Linked DNA regions of Homo sapiens: all the other regions are linked to region 1. The links are contacts of gene promoters, found by promoter capture Hi-C in human tissues and cell types (Jung and others, 2019). All regions are on one chromosome and are shown on one strand. The core of a region is centred on a gene start or on the middle of the fragment in contact, and the rest is flanking DNA. Distances in the headings are between cores, read along the strand shown. Region 1 holds the start of PROZ (protein Z, vitamin K dependent plasma glycoprotein). Region 2 overlaps MCF2L (MCF.2 cell line derived transforming sequence like). Region 3 overlaps CUL4A (cullin 4A).

What was found. The method cuts DNA at HindIII sites, captures the fragments that hold promoters and counts their contacts. A contact is called where the count stands out against the background at its distance.
Region 2: a fragment that was not itself captured here is called in contact with the fragment with the promoter of PROZ in region 1 in 3 of the 25 tissues and cell types used here (H1 embryonic stem cells, dorsolateral prefrontal cortex and ovary).
Region 3: a fragment that was not itself captured here is called in contact with the fragment with the promoter of PROZ in region 1 in 3 of the 25 tissues and cell types used here (bladder, heart right ventricle and neural progenitor cells).

Annotation. Positions count from the first base shown.
Region 1 is chr13:113,156,574-113,160,574 of GRCh38, forward strand. It overlaps PROZ (protein Z, vitamin K dependent plasma glycoprotein), which reads left to right and starts at 2,075. Exons shown (of 8, transcript NM_003891.3): 1 at 2,075-2,157; 2 at 3,441-3,604. The coding sequence starts at 2,088. LOC124903216 (a long non-coding RNA gene) reads left to right here. Exons shown (of 4, transcript XR_007063880.1): 4 at 1-37. RefSeq lists enhancers at 1,558-2,135, 2,712-3,289. The HindIII fragment of the contact is 7,105 bases long and covers 1-4,001 here.
Region 2 is chr13:113,073,443-113,077,810 of GRCh38, forward strand. It overlaps MCF2L (MCF.2 cell line derived transforming sequence like), which reads left to right. Exons shown (of 30, transcript NM_001112732.3): 10 at 1,002-1,121; 11 at 1,556-1,747; 12 at 2,524-2,715; 13 at 3,610-3,769. Among named protein-coding and RNA genes, the nearest start is that of F7, 30 kb to the right of the region's middle. The HindIII fragment of the contact is 3,451 bases long and covers 1,184-4,368 here.
Region 3 is chr13:113,252,252-113,256,359 of GRCh38, forward strand. It overlaps CUL4A (cullin 4A), which reads left to right. Exons shown (of 20, transcript NM_001008895.4): 16 at 831-944; 17 at 2,442-2,547; 18 at 2,702-2,874. Among named protein-coding and RNA genes, the nearest start is that of MIR8075, 8.6 kb to the right of the region's middle. The HindIII fragment of the contact is 5,416 bases long and covers 1-4,108 here.

The DNA.
Region 1 (4,001 bases), core at 825-3,324:
TGGAGCCTTGATCTTGGACTTCCCATCCTCCAGAACTGTGAGCACTACGTTTCTGTTTATCGTAAATTACCCACTCTAAGGTGTTTTGTTACAGCAGCCCCAACAGACTAAAATGGTCCATGAGGGAAGAGGTTGTAGCTCAGATACCCATGTCAGGCATATAGGATGTGCTTAATTAACACTTATTGATCGAATGTGTATGTCCCTGTCTGCCTTTCCATTTTTAGGCAGCTATTGATGGTTTTTAAACTATCCAGCAGAAGTATTTTTAATGTAAATTTCCATGTGGGAATACATTTTCACACAAAAAAAGGCACCTTTTCTTAAGTGAAGGCCACGTAGATTGCCAGGCTGGTGCAATTCACCCAAGAGCTATCCTATACAATCAACTTCTGGCTTTCAAATTATTTTAACTCACTCACTAAAGATAAACTTTATTTTCTTTTCCCAGCTTTTTAAAGCAAACTTCACAACTTCAGTGTATTTGCGGGCATGCCCTCTTAATCAAGGGTGTCAGCTTCTTAGTTTTCTTCTGTTCCCACTTTAACAAAATTGTATTTAGAATCCTTTCATTGAGTTTTGCCACCTTTGAGTGTCATTCAATCGAACAATATCTATATGCTGACAATGCTGTCATTTCATCTGTTACCACCTGAATCTCCACTGTGAGTCCCAGCTTCTCGGATGCCCACTCCTGTCTCCACCTGGACATCCCACAGACACCTCAAATTTGCCAAACCTCGCTTCCCTCTGCCCTCCTGGAGCTTGGCCGTCTCAGCACACGCACTGCCATCCTCCCAATCGCTCAGCCCAAACCTTGGAGCCGTGCTGCCCGACACAATTCATCATGAATCCCATCAGCTTTCCCTTCCTGAAGCATCCAGACTGCAAACGTGCTTCCTGCTGCATGGCTGCACCCTCACCCCCTCCTGGACTAGCCGGCAGCCTCCCTTTTGACTTCTCTGGAATGTTCTGTTCTCCACACAGCAGCCCAGTGATCCCTTCAGAGCACAAATCTTTCCATGTCAATTCCTGTTCCCTCCAATATCTTCCCAACACAGTGAAAATGAAACACCAGGTTCTTACCTCAGGCTTCAAGGGCTGATATGGTTTGGCTGTGTCCCCACCGAAATCTTATCTTGAATTGTAATCCCCATAGTCCCCACGTGTCCTGGGAGGGACCCGGTGGGAGGTAATTGAATCATGGGGGTGGTTTCCACCATGCTATTCTTGGGATAGTGAGTGAGTCTCAAGAGATTTGATGGTTTTATAAGGATCTGGCATTTCCCCTGCTTCAGTCATTCTCTCTGCTGCCACCCTGTGAAGAGGTGCCTTCTGCCATAATTATAAGTTTCCTGAGGCCTCCCCAGCCATGTGGAACTGGGAGTCAACTAAACCTCTTTTCTTAAATTACCCAGTCTTGGCTATTTCTTCATAACAGTGTAAGAAGGGACTAATACACAGGGCCTACATCTGAAAGCAGCAAACGACAACCCTGGGGCCAAATCTGGCCCCTTAATAGCTCTTATAAATAAAGCTTTATTGGCACACAGCCAAGTGTTCATTCATGATTGTCTATGCTGCCTCTGCTACAATGGTGCTGAGCTGTAGTGACAGACACTATTTGGCCCTTCCCCGCTTTCTCCCTCCTCCCTCCCTCCCTTCCTTTTCTCCCCTTCCTTCTTTCCATCCTCCTGCTTTCCCTCCCTCACTCCCTCCTGTCTCTTTCCCTCGTTCTTTTCTGTGTATTCCACACACACCTAGAACGTAAGCTGCATGTGACTTTGTCTGTCCCGCCCAGTGCTGTGTCCCCAGGGCCTATCTCACCTCCATTGACCACACACGGGCATGGGTGCCACCTTCCACCTTGCACCTGCTGCCTTTACCTTCTGTTCTCTGTCTCCCTAAATATCTCCCAGGGTCCTCTGAGCCTTCACCGTTCATTTCTCTGCCTGGCCTCAAACAGAAAACGTCAGGAGGGAAGCACACAGCTGCACAGGTCGTGCCCCGAGGCTCCTGCTGCCGGCACCTCCCCCAGCCTGGACTTTGGCTGTGTTTGTAGCCCTGTCCCAGCGCTCCGGGTGGGAATGGCAGGCTGCGTCCCACTGCTCCAGGGCCTGGTCCTGGTCCTCGCCCTCCATCGTGTGGAGCCCTCAGGTAGGCATCTGGCTTACCTGTCTGTTGTGCCTGTGCTGTGTCTTTCTTGACTCGGTCCATGGTGGATTTGTAGATGAGGCTTTTTCCAGGAGCCAGAGGAGCCCTGAGTGCCCAGACTAGTCTTAATTCCCCTGAAAAAGCTGTTTGGATCTTTATCATTTGGTGACAAGTATTTGGGACATGATAGTGTCACTTGGGGTCCTCCCAAGAGATGCCCAAATGGAAAGAAGCCTGTGTGCAGGGGATTCAGCCGGGAAAGGCCGGGGAGAGGGGAGGGGGAAAGGGGGAGGAGTGGGGGGAGGCCTGGGTTGGGCATTGGACGAGGGGAGGGGGTGGGGCAGGCTGAGCCCAGACTGCAATGTGGGCAGAGAGAGCCTTGGCCAGGCCAGCCAGGAATGCCCAGTCTTGAGTCAGGAGACATAGCCAGGGAGCAGCCACCCTGCCTGCCTGCCACCCTTCTACCACCAGCCACTTCACTGAAGGAACGACATGGACTCCATTCTGACTCTGCCTGCACAGGCGTCCAGGAAAGCTGCAAGTCAAAACACCCAGCATCCCCGCTGGCCCCATGGTCTCCCGCTGGCCCCATGGTCTCCCACCCTGAGAGGGTGATCCCCCCGCCCTGCCCTGCCCAGCACTTACCGTAGCCGGACTTAGCTGAGCCCCCCCTGCTGTAACCCTCAGCACCGAGAGAAAAGGAGGGAGGATGGGAAGGGCCTGGGCTTTGACCCTCCCGGAGAGGGAGAGAACATGCTTTGGGACCCTCAGGTGGGAAGAGGCTCCAGAGACCACTGCCGCGGGTCAACTCATTTGCCTTCTCCTCCTGGAAATCGCAGAGCCTGCTGCAATGTATAAGTTTCTTCTTTATGTGTTTTATCAAGATGTTAAATGCTGCGCACAGAGGCAGCACAGGAGCTGATGGCTCTTGGTCCCCAGTTCTCAGTACGGGGACCTTTGACCCCAGCTCAGCCTTCCTTCGCACTCAGACCCAAAACCCAGTTGGAGCCCTCCCTCCTCCACTTTCCTGACTGAGGCCCGTGGCCTCTCTGCAGAACCTTAGTGTATCCGCACTGATCCTGGGGCTGATCCATTCGCCCAGAGGATGAAGTGCTTGCCTACCTCGGGGGAGGGAGTAGCGGGGTGGCCCTGAGGCCCTCGCAGGCTGAGAGCCTGTGGAGACGGACGGGGCTGGGGCTGGCGGCCGGCCGGGGAGGAAGCCAGGCAGCTCTGGAAAGCAGGGCCCTCGGTGCTCCCAGTCACCTGCCTTCTTGTCTCGTCTGTAGTATTTCTCCCGGCCTCCAAAGCAAACGACGTTCTGGTGAGGTGGAAGCGTGCGGGCTCCTATCTTCTGGAAGAACTCTTCGAGGGAAACTTGGAAAAAGAATGTTATGAAGAAATCTGTGTCTATGAAGAAGCAAGAGAAGTGTTTGAAAATGAAGTAGTCACTGTATGTACCCCCACCACAAACCACAGGCCTCCTCATTATTTAGACTTCTGCTGGCCCAGGGAGCATCATTTCTCAGAGATTAAGCTTAATTAATTAGCCTATTTACTTACCGATGAGGTTGACACAATCCCAGTTTTACAGATGAGGAAACAATTTAGAGAATCGACTTAATCCACCTTTCCCTACAGCAGTGAGTGGGGCTGGAAGTCAGCTCAGAGCCCACTGGACTCATTTCTTCAGGTCAGGCAAGGCCCACACACTGATCAGACACCCAGCATACATTTTCTTTCTAGGCTTCAAGTCTGAATAATTCTCCTAATTTTAGATACTCCTACCCCAAACTAAGTGTCCCCACTCCCTACAGAGGTATATATCTTTAAAATTCAACTCGGTTTAT
Region 2 (4,368 bases), core at 1,659-4,158, 82 kb before region 1:
GCCAGATGCAGGGGGTTCAAGGATGGACAAGAATCCTGCCTTCCTGGCCTTCAACCCCAGGCCATCTGAACTACAACCCCCTTGGCACTGGGATGTCTGCGTACACACCCATTCTCAGGATCATTTCCAATAACAAAAATTAAAAGCTTTTGTATTTAAAGGAATAAGTGGTCATATGTTTTAAAAATCAGGCCAGGCATGGTGGCTCACACCTGTAATCCCAGCACTGTGGGAGGCCAAGACGGGTGGATCACCTGTGGTCAGGAGTTCAAGACCAACCTGGCCAACATGGTGAAACCCCATCTCTACTAAAAATGCAAAAATTAGCTGGGCGTGATGGCTGGTGCCTGTAATCCCAGCTACTTGGGAGGCTGAGGCAGGAAAATCACTTGAACCAGAGAGGCAGAGGTTACAGTGAGCCAAGATCACGCCACTGCACTCCAGCCTGGGCAACAAGAACAAAACTCCGTCTCAAAAAAAAAAAATTAAAAATTAAAATAAAAATCATTTCTATGACACCCATTGTCTTCCTGCCAACAGCAGAAATCGTAGACATTAGAAGTTAGTAGCAAGCTAGAAGGGACTGAGTTACATAACTCTCCACACCTAGGATCCAGTAGGAATGCTGACAATTCCAGTGTCCATATTGCTGCTGGCTTTCGGCTCCCAGGGCCTTTGTCCTTGCGTGATCTCATCTTCTCCTCATGCTGTTTTCAGGCGTGTGGTTGATAAACGGAGGCACACACAAGCCACAGAGAAACAATTGTTCTGCCAGTGAGGTCACTGGTGGGTAGCGTCGACCCAGAGGCCCCACGGTCCCCGCTTGATTGGTGACCACTCGGGGCCGACTTTGCACCTGTCTGACTGTGGTCCCTGCTTGATTGATGACCACTTGGCCCGACTTTGAATTCTGTCATTTCCCTGATCTGGAGCACTGGAGTGGGTTCTCTCTGTTCAGGTGAGGGAGACACCCCCCTGAGATGGGCCCTCCTCTGTTCCAGGTCAAAGCCATCTTGGACGCAGCGTCCCAGAAGATAGCAACCTTCACAGACATCGGCAACAGCCTGGCGCATGTGGAGCACCTGCTGAGGGACCTGGCCAGCTTCGAGGAGAAATCAGGCGTAAGGCGGGGTCCCGGCGGGGGCGGCGGGAGAGTGTGGGCAGCATCATCAAGTGCTGCTCAGGAAGGCGCAGGAATGGGCCTCCCGCCTACGGAGAACGGACCCCACAGCCCCCCGGGGATGTCCATGGGGTGGGGGGTGCTGCTGCCTGTACCCCTCCCCTCCCACACCCCACCCACAGCACATGGCCCTGCCCGGCCTCCTCTGGGTCAGGTCCCTGCAGACGGTCAATGCCTTTGCTGGGACCACCACAGCCCCCAGAAGCACTTGCCACAGAACAGCTTCGGGGATTAAGCAGCATCTCAGGCATCCGCAGCAGTAAACAAAGAAATCAAGACACACGTGTGCCCCGGGACACACATCCCGTACAGCAAGGCACTGTGTGCCTCGAACAGAAAGAGGCCTGAGCTGGTCCTCTGGGTGGCCGTCCACAGGTGGCCGTGGAGAGGGCCCGGGCCCTGTCTCTGGACGGCGAGCAGCTCATTGGGAACAAGCACTACGCGGTAGACTCCATCCGCCCAAAGTGCCAGGAGCTCCGGCACCTCTGTGACCAGTTCTCTGCGGAGATCGCAAGGAGGAGGGGGCTGCTCAGCAAGTCCCTGGAGCTGCACCGCCGCCTGGAGACGGTAGGCCGAGCCGGACCCCACCCCACTCCCCCCCAGCTGCGGAACCAGCCTCTTCCTCCCACATCCACCACCGGCTGACCCTTGTCGTGGGGAGGGCAGCTCTTTGGCTGGAAAATGTCCTTGCACCCTTCGTTTCTGGTCTTGTTGGCCTAGAGGGTCTTTTTCTAGAATTCATTTGCCACAGTTTTATTTCTTTTTTTTTTTTTTTCTCACTGCAACCTCTGGTTCCTGGGCTCAAGGGATCCTCCCACCTCAGCCCCCAAGTAGCTGGGACTGTAGGTGCATGCCACCGTACCCAGCTAATTCTTGTATTTTGTGTGTGTGTGATAGAGATGGGGTCTCACTATGTTGCCCAGGCTGGTCTCGAACTCCTGGGCTCAGGTGATCCTCTCACCTTCACCTCTCAGAGTGCTGGGATTACAGGCGTGAGCCACCCTGCCCAGCCAATAATGATTTCTTTAAAAGATCCAGAAGCTTAAGGCCTGGTTGATCCTACTGCACTTACCCTGCCTCTCCAGGCCCCGCCCTGGGTAATTCACTGGTGTTGTCCAGCACTGTGTCCCCTTGGGATTGGCCTTGTCCAGCACTGTGTCCCCTTGGGATTGGCCTTGTCCAGCACTGTGTCCCCTTGGGGTGCTTTGGACAGGGTGGCGGGAGCACGAGGAGTCGGTGGCCCGGGATCTGTCGGGAGGACACCCCGGCAGTGTGTGCCTGGACAGGGTGACGCTCTCACCCTCTCACGGCGTCCTGCCCTCGGCAATGCTCTGTGTTTCCAGTCCATGAAGTGGTGTGATGAAGGGATTTACCTGCTGGCCTCACAACCTGTGGACAAGTGCCAGTCCCAGGACGGCGCGGAGGCTGCCCTCCAGGAAATCGAGAAGTTTTTGGAGACCGGTGCGGAAAATAAGATCCAGGAGCTCAACGCGATTTACAAGGAATACGAATCCATCCTCAACCAAGATCTCATGGTAACGCTGACTCGGGCTCTCCATTTGCAGCTTGCTGTCCCGAGCAGTGAGGCATTCCTCTGTGGGAAGTTTGAAAGAATCATTTAATGAATTATTTGTATTTATTTATTATTATTTTTTTTTTGAGATGGAATCTCGCTCTTGTCGCCCAGGCTGGAGTGCAGTGGCACGATCTTAGCTCACTGCAATCTCCGCCTCCCAGGTTCAAGCAATTCTCCTGCCTCAGCCTCCTGAGTAGCTGGGATTACAGGCGCCCACCACCAAGCCTGGCTAATTTTTGTATTTTTATTAGAGACAGGTTTTCACCATGTTGGCCAGGCTGGTCTCGAACTCCTGACCTCAGGTGATCCACCCAGCTCAACCTCCCAAAGTGCTGGAATGACAGGTGTGAGCCACCGCACCTGGCCCATTTAATGAATTACTACCAAATAATAGGCATATGAGAGAAACACACAGTTGGGAGGTCAAGCTGAATTTTCCTTTCAACACAGAAATTATTTCCACGCCAACCCTGCGAGGTGGCCATCCCGCCTCCGCTGGCAGACTTTGTGGCATGGGTGTGTTCTTCAGGAAGGGCCTGGCCCTGGGACCTGGTGATGCCCTTGAGACCAGGCTCCTCCTGAGCCCTCCACATGCCTGGGGAAGGCTGCAGGCCCCTCCCTCGCATGGAGCTGCCCTTTCCCGAGGCCGGGGCCCCGTCCCGTGTGGGGGCTGCATCCCCCTCTCCGTCCGTAGTGGCCAGGGCTGGACACAGCTGCGCTGCGCTGACAGACCCCGCATGGAGAACATTTAAAGCGGGGGTTGGGCGTGCCCCGGCACGTTCTGCGCCTGACTGTGTATTTTTAGTGATGACACCAACATGTGCAAGGCACCTTACTGAGCATGCGGTTTCAGGAGCACGTGCGAAAGGTCTTCCAGAAGCAGGCAAGCATGGAGGAGGTGTTCCACCGCAGGCAGGCCAGCCTGAAGAAGCTGGCGGCCAGGCAGACGCGGCCCGTGCAGCCGGTGGCCCCCAGACCCGAGGCACTGGCAAAGTCGCCCTGCCCCTCCCCAGGTCTGTGTGGCCGCCCGGTGCCCCGGGTGCTGTGGGACCCTCGGGGGAGCCCCGGGCGTTGAGAGCTTGGTACATCTGAGGCAGCCACCTGCGAAAACTGTCTCCACACGCCTCCTCCCCTTCCACCTCCGGGCCCCAGTTCAGGGCCTGAGGGCCGGTTCCCGCCACCCCTCACCCATGTTTATAAATGGAGTTTTGTCAGGACCCGGCCACGCCCATCCTGTGCCACGCACATCTTGTAGGCATCGTTGTGGCTGCTTTTCCATGAGGCTGGCAGGGTTCAGTGGTCTCAGTGAAGCCCACGTGGCCCAAAACTGGAAACACAGAGCTCCCACAGAGGAACCATCTCCGGCCTTCCCAGCTCCAGCCTCTCCACGGTCTGTCCTTTCCCGGTGCTATTGCCAAACAACATTCCTCACACACGGCCCAGACCCTGGGCTCCAGGAGCCCTGAAGAGCCACGTCCGCGCACCTCAGTCCGGCGCGCATTGCTGGTCCCAAACCCGCCCTCTATGCCGAGCCAGGCACGGCGCCATTTCCCAGAGACTTTCCCGCCACCTCTGTGTCTCAAAACGAACCCTCTTCCCATCCTTGCTGGTT
Region 3 (4,108 bases), core at 777-3,276, 96 kb after region 1:
GAAATTCACTCAAGGCCAGGCACAGTCTAATTCCAGCGTTTTGGGAGGCCGAGGCAGGAGGAGCGCTTGGGCCCAGGATTTCAAGACCAGCCTGGGCAGCATGAGAAGACCCATCTCTACAACAACAACAACAACAAAAATCAACGGGCTTGGTGTCATGTACCTGTAGTCCCAGCTGCTCAGGACACTGAGGCAGGTGGATCACTTGCACCTGGGAGATCCAGCCTGCAGTAAGCTAGGATCACACCACAACCTGGCTGACAGAGCAAGCCTGTGTTCCAAAAAAGAAAAGAAATTCACCCAGAAACTAATCATAGAAACAACTAACTCGTGCTGCACTTTCTGTGCAGGCCCAGATGGAGGTGTTTGCCATCAGCCCCTGCACAGTGCAACGCAAGGGGTTGTGGTGTCACCCTTCACAGATGAGGAAGCAGGAGCCCCGCTCATTGCCGGGAACACCAGCCGAGGCCAGGGCTGGGCATGGCCGGGCTGAGACACAGGATCTGGCCTCAGACACCTTTTTCTTGACGGGCTCCAGTCTTCACTCTGTGCCACTGGCCCCAGCAAGCCCTGGTATGTACAGAGACCACGGAATACAGCTGGTCTGTACCATGAAACACCAGTTCAGGCATTATCTCGTTGACACTGAGAAGCCCCAAAGTTCAAGGATTGAGGACGTTTTTACAAATAATGGAATCCAGAAAGTGTGAGAATATAGAGCTGACCTTTTAATTCAGCCGTGAGAAATTGTAAAACTCTGTGCATTGAATGGGGAGCTATTGAGATGGATGGTGTGTGGCATAATTTTGTTGTTCTCCTATGCTTAACAGATGATTAAACTTCAGGAAGTATTTAAGGCATTTTATCTTGGAAAGCACAGTGGTCGAAAACTTCAGTGGCAAACTACTTTGGGACATGCTGTTTTAAAAGCGGAGTTTAAAGAAGTAAGTTGTCTGTTTCATTTATTTTTTATTATTTGTAAATATGTTAATATAATTTTTTTATTGTTACTGGACTTTAGTAGCAAAAAAGGAGTGTTTCACTTTAATTCACTAGCTTTTATAAGTCAATAAAATTTGTAACAGTTAAAGGGTTATTATTCCAATCAATAAAAATTCTTAAGAAATCAATCCATAGAAAACCATTTACCTATTGAAAAAAAGAGCAGAGAATGTGAAGAGGCAACTCATAAAAGCAAAATTGAAAAAAATATCTGTGAAGATGCATTACACTTCTCTGCTAAACAGAGGGCTTCAAAGTAAAATACAGTAAGATGCCACTTTTTGACTAAGAGATTTGATGAAGCCTAAAAAATAAAAAAAAATTAAAAAAAACAGACTCTTGCCCACTACTGGAAGAAGCATAAACTGTAGTGAGCTTTTGGAAGGGCAGTTTGGCATTGTGAACTTTGGCAACCCTGCTGCCGAGTTGTTGCCTTAGTTTCAACTCTAGGAACTCATCTTAATAAGACATTTTCACGGATTAATGAATGAGAATAGTGGTTGCAGTGCTGTTATTATGAGCGATTATTTAAGAGGGGAGAATGCATACAATGCACTGATCAATGAAAGGCGCTTATGAAACGGCAATTATATACACTAAGCAAAAACATAAAATTCCTATTTTGTATAGCTGTTATATTAATAATAAACTTATCTGTACATTATCAAATAAGTTATACATACCTACTTTATTATTGTAGAGAGTCATATACATGAAACCATATATTCTCTTCCTTAAGGTATTAGGAAAGTTAATTTCTATTATCCCCAGTTTTTTACCTACTTGCTGACTTTAGTTGAACTTGACCTCCACAGGGTCTGTACCAGCACCACCAACTGCAGCTCTCTCCAGGTGTGCAGGAAGGGCTTGTTATGGGCTTGTGATGAGTCTGGGCTGGGTCCGCAGAGGGGGCCACCAACTGTCACCCAAACTCTCATGTGCCTCTCGTGGGTCTGACCTGGAGGCATGTGGCAAGTTGCTGCAGCACTAACTCCTGAATAGAAAAGGAGATCATCCTGGGATATATAAGGCCAAATTGCATTCACCCCTACGTTACAGTCAGTCCCGTATAAAAGAAAGCTGGACTGTAATCCCAGTACCTGGGGAGGCCGAGGTGGGTGGATCACAAGGTCAGGAGATCGAGACCATCCTGGCTAACACAGTGGAACTCCATCTCTACTAAAAATACAAAAAATTAGCCGGGCTTGGTAGGCACCAGTAGTCCCAGCTACTCGGGAGGCTGAGGCAGGAGAATGGCATGATTCCGGGAGGTGGGGCTTGCAGTGAGCTGAGATTGTGCCACTGCACTCCAGCCTGGGTGACAGAGCGAGACTCCTTCTCAAAAAAAAAAAAGTTTGAGAGCAAAAAGAAGCTTCTTTTAATTTTTCAAAGATTGTACATGCACAGCTTCAGAGGTGTGATGAGGCCTTCTCTTCCAGGGGAAGAAGGAATTCCAGGTGTCCCTCTTCCAGACACTGGTGCTCCTCATGTTCAACGAGGGAGATGGCTTCAGCTTTGAGGAGATAAAAATGGCCACGGGGATAGGTACGAAAACTGCAGAGTGCATAGCTCCATGAGTTGTTCTTAAAGCATGTATTTGTTTTAAGATAAGACATAGACTTGGTAGCATGATTGGTTTACTGTTGTTGAGTCTCATTCGTTTAACGCCAGCCTTTGCCTGCATTTGCTTCCCATTCAGAGGATAGTGAATTGCGCAGAACGCTGCAGTCCCTGGCCTGTGGCAAAGCACGTGTGCTGATTAAAAGTCCCAAAGGAAAGGAAGTGGAAGATGGAGACAAGTTCATTTTTAATGGAGAGTTCAAGCACAAGTTGTTTAGAATAAAGATCAATCAAATTCAGATGAAGGAAACTGTATGTATAAACTTTCTCTTTTTACTTATAGGGGGTTTAGCAGGGAATCATTTGTTTTTGTAGTAATGTTTTTGGCTGTTAGAGGCCTGAAGCACATTTCTACAATAATCCAATTTCACTATGTAATGTTTATAAGAGTACTCATTTTCCTGTCGCTTTCATTAACTTCACATTCTCAGTAGGAAAGAAAATCAGAAAAAAAGCCACTTAATGTTATTCCTATTCACAAAAAAGTTGTGTGCTAAGCCAGAACTCCCCATGGTCATAGGGTTTCGAAAATTATCCACACTTTCTATGGTAATAGAATCTGATATGGTTCACTCTTGGTGTTGTACATTCTGTGGGTCTGGGTAAATGTATAATGTTATGTATCCACCATTATAGGATCATACAGGACAGTTTCATTGCCCTAAAAATTCTCTTATGTTCTGTCGCTGTATCCCTGTCTCCCTCCGAGCCCCTGGCAACCCCTGACCCTGTTACTGTCACCATAGTTTTGCCCTTTCCTGAATGCCGTACAGTTGGAGTCATAGTGTATATAGCCTTTTCAGATTGGCTTCTTTATTTATTAGAACGTATTTGAGGTTCACCGTGTCTTTTCATGACTGGGTAACTCTGCTTTTTGCACTGAAGGATTCTCCGTTGTCTGGATGCATCACAACTTATCCCTTCACCTACTGAAGGACATCTGGTTGTTTCCAAGTTTTGGTGATGATGACTAAAGCTGCTATAAACATTTCTGTGCAGGTTTTTATGTGGACTTAAGTTTTTAACTCCTTTGAGGGTGCACCTTTTATAGTGGGCAAAAGTGAGAAGGTCTATCAGTTCTTTCTCCCGAAGGTAACCACTACTGCCCTTTTTGTTTGTGGTCACAGCCTTTTTCTGTGGTGTGAGTGTATGTAAACTTTTTTTTTAGTGGGATCACTAAGCCAGGCACAGTGACATGCACCCATAGTCTCAGCTACTCGGGAGGGTCGCTTGATCCCGGGAGTTTGAGGCCAGCCTGAGCAATGCAGTGAGACCCCAAACTCTACAAAAGAAAAAACACCTGGGATCACTGTACATATGGCACCTGTCAGGGCCTTCCTGTAGCCAGTTTTCGTTGCTGATCGCAGTCTTCTCCTGGCCAGGACTTGTTGCAGGAGCACAGTGCCGGTTGTGTAGACCCACCAGGGCTGGCAGTGCCCTCGGCCACAGGCACTAACATTCCTCCACTGCCCCTCCTGAAAATAAG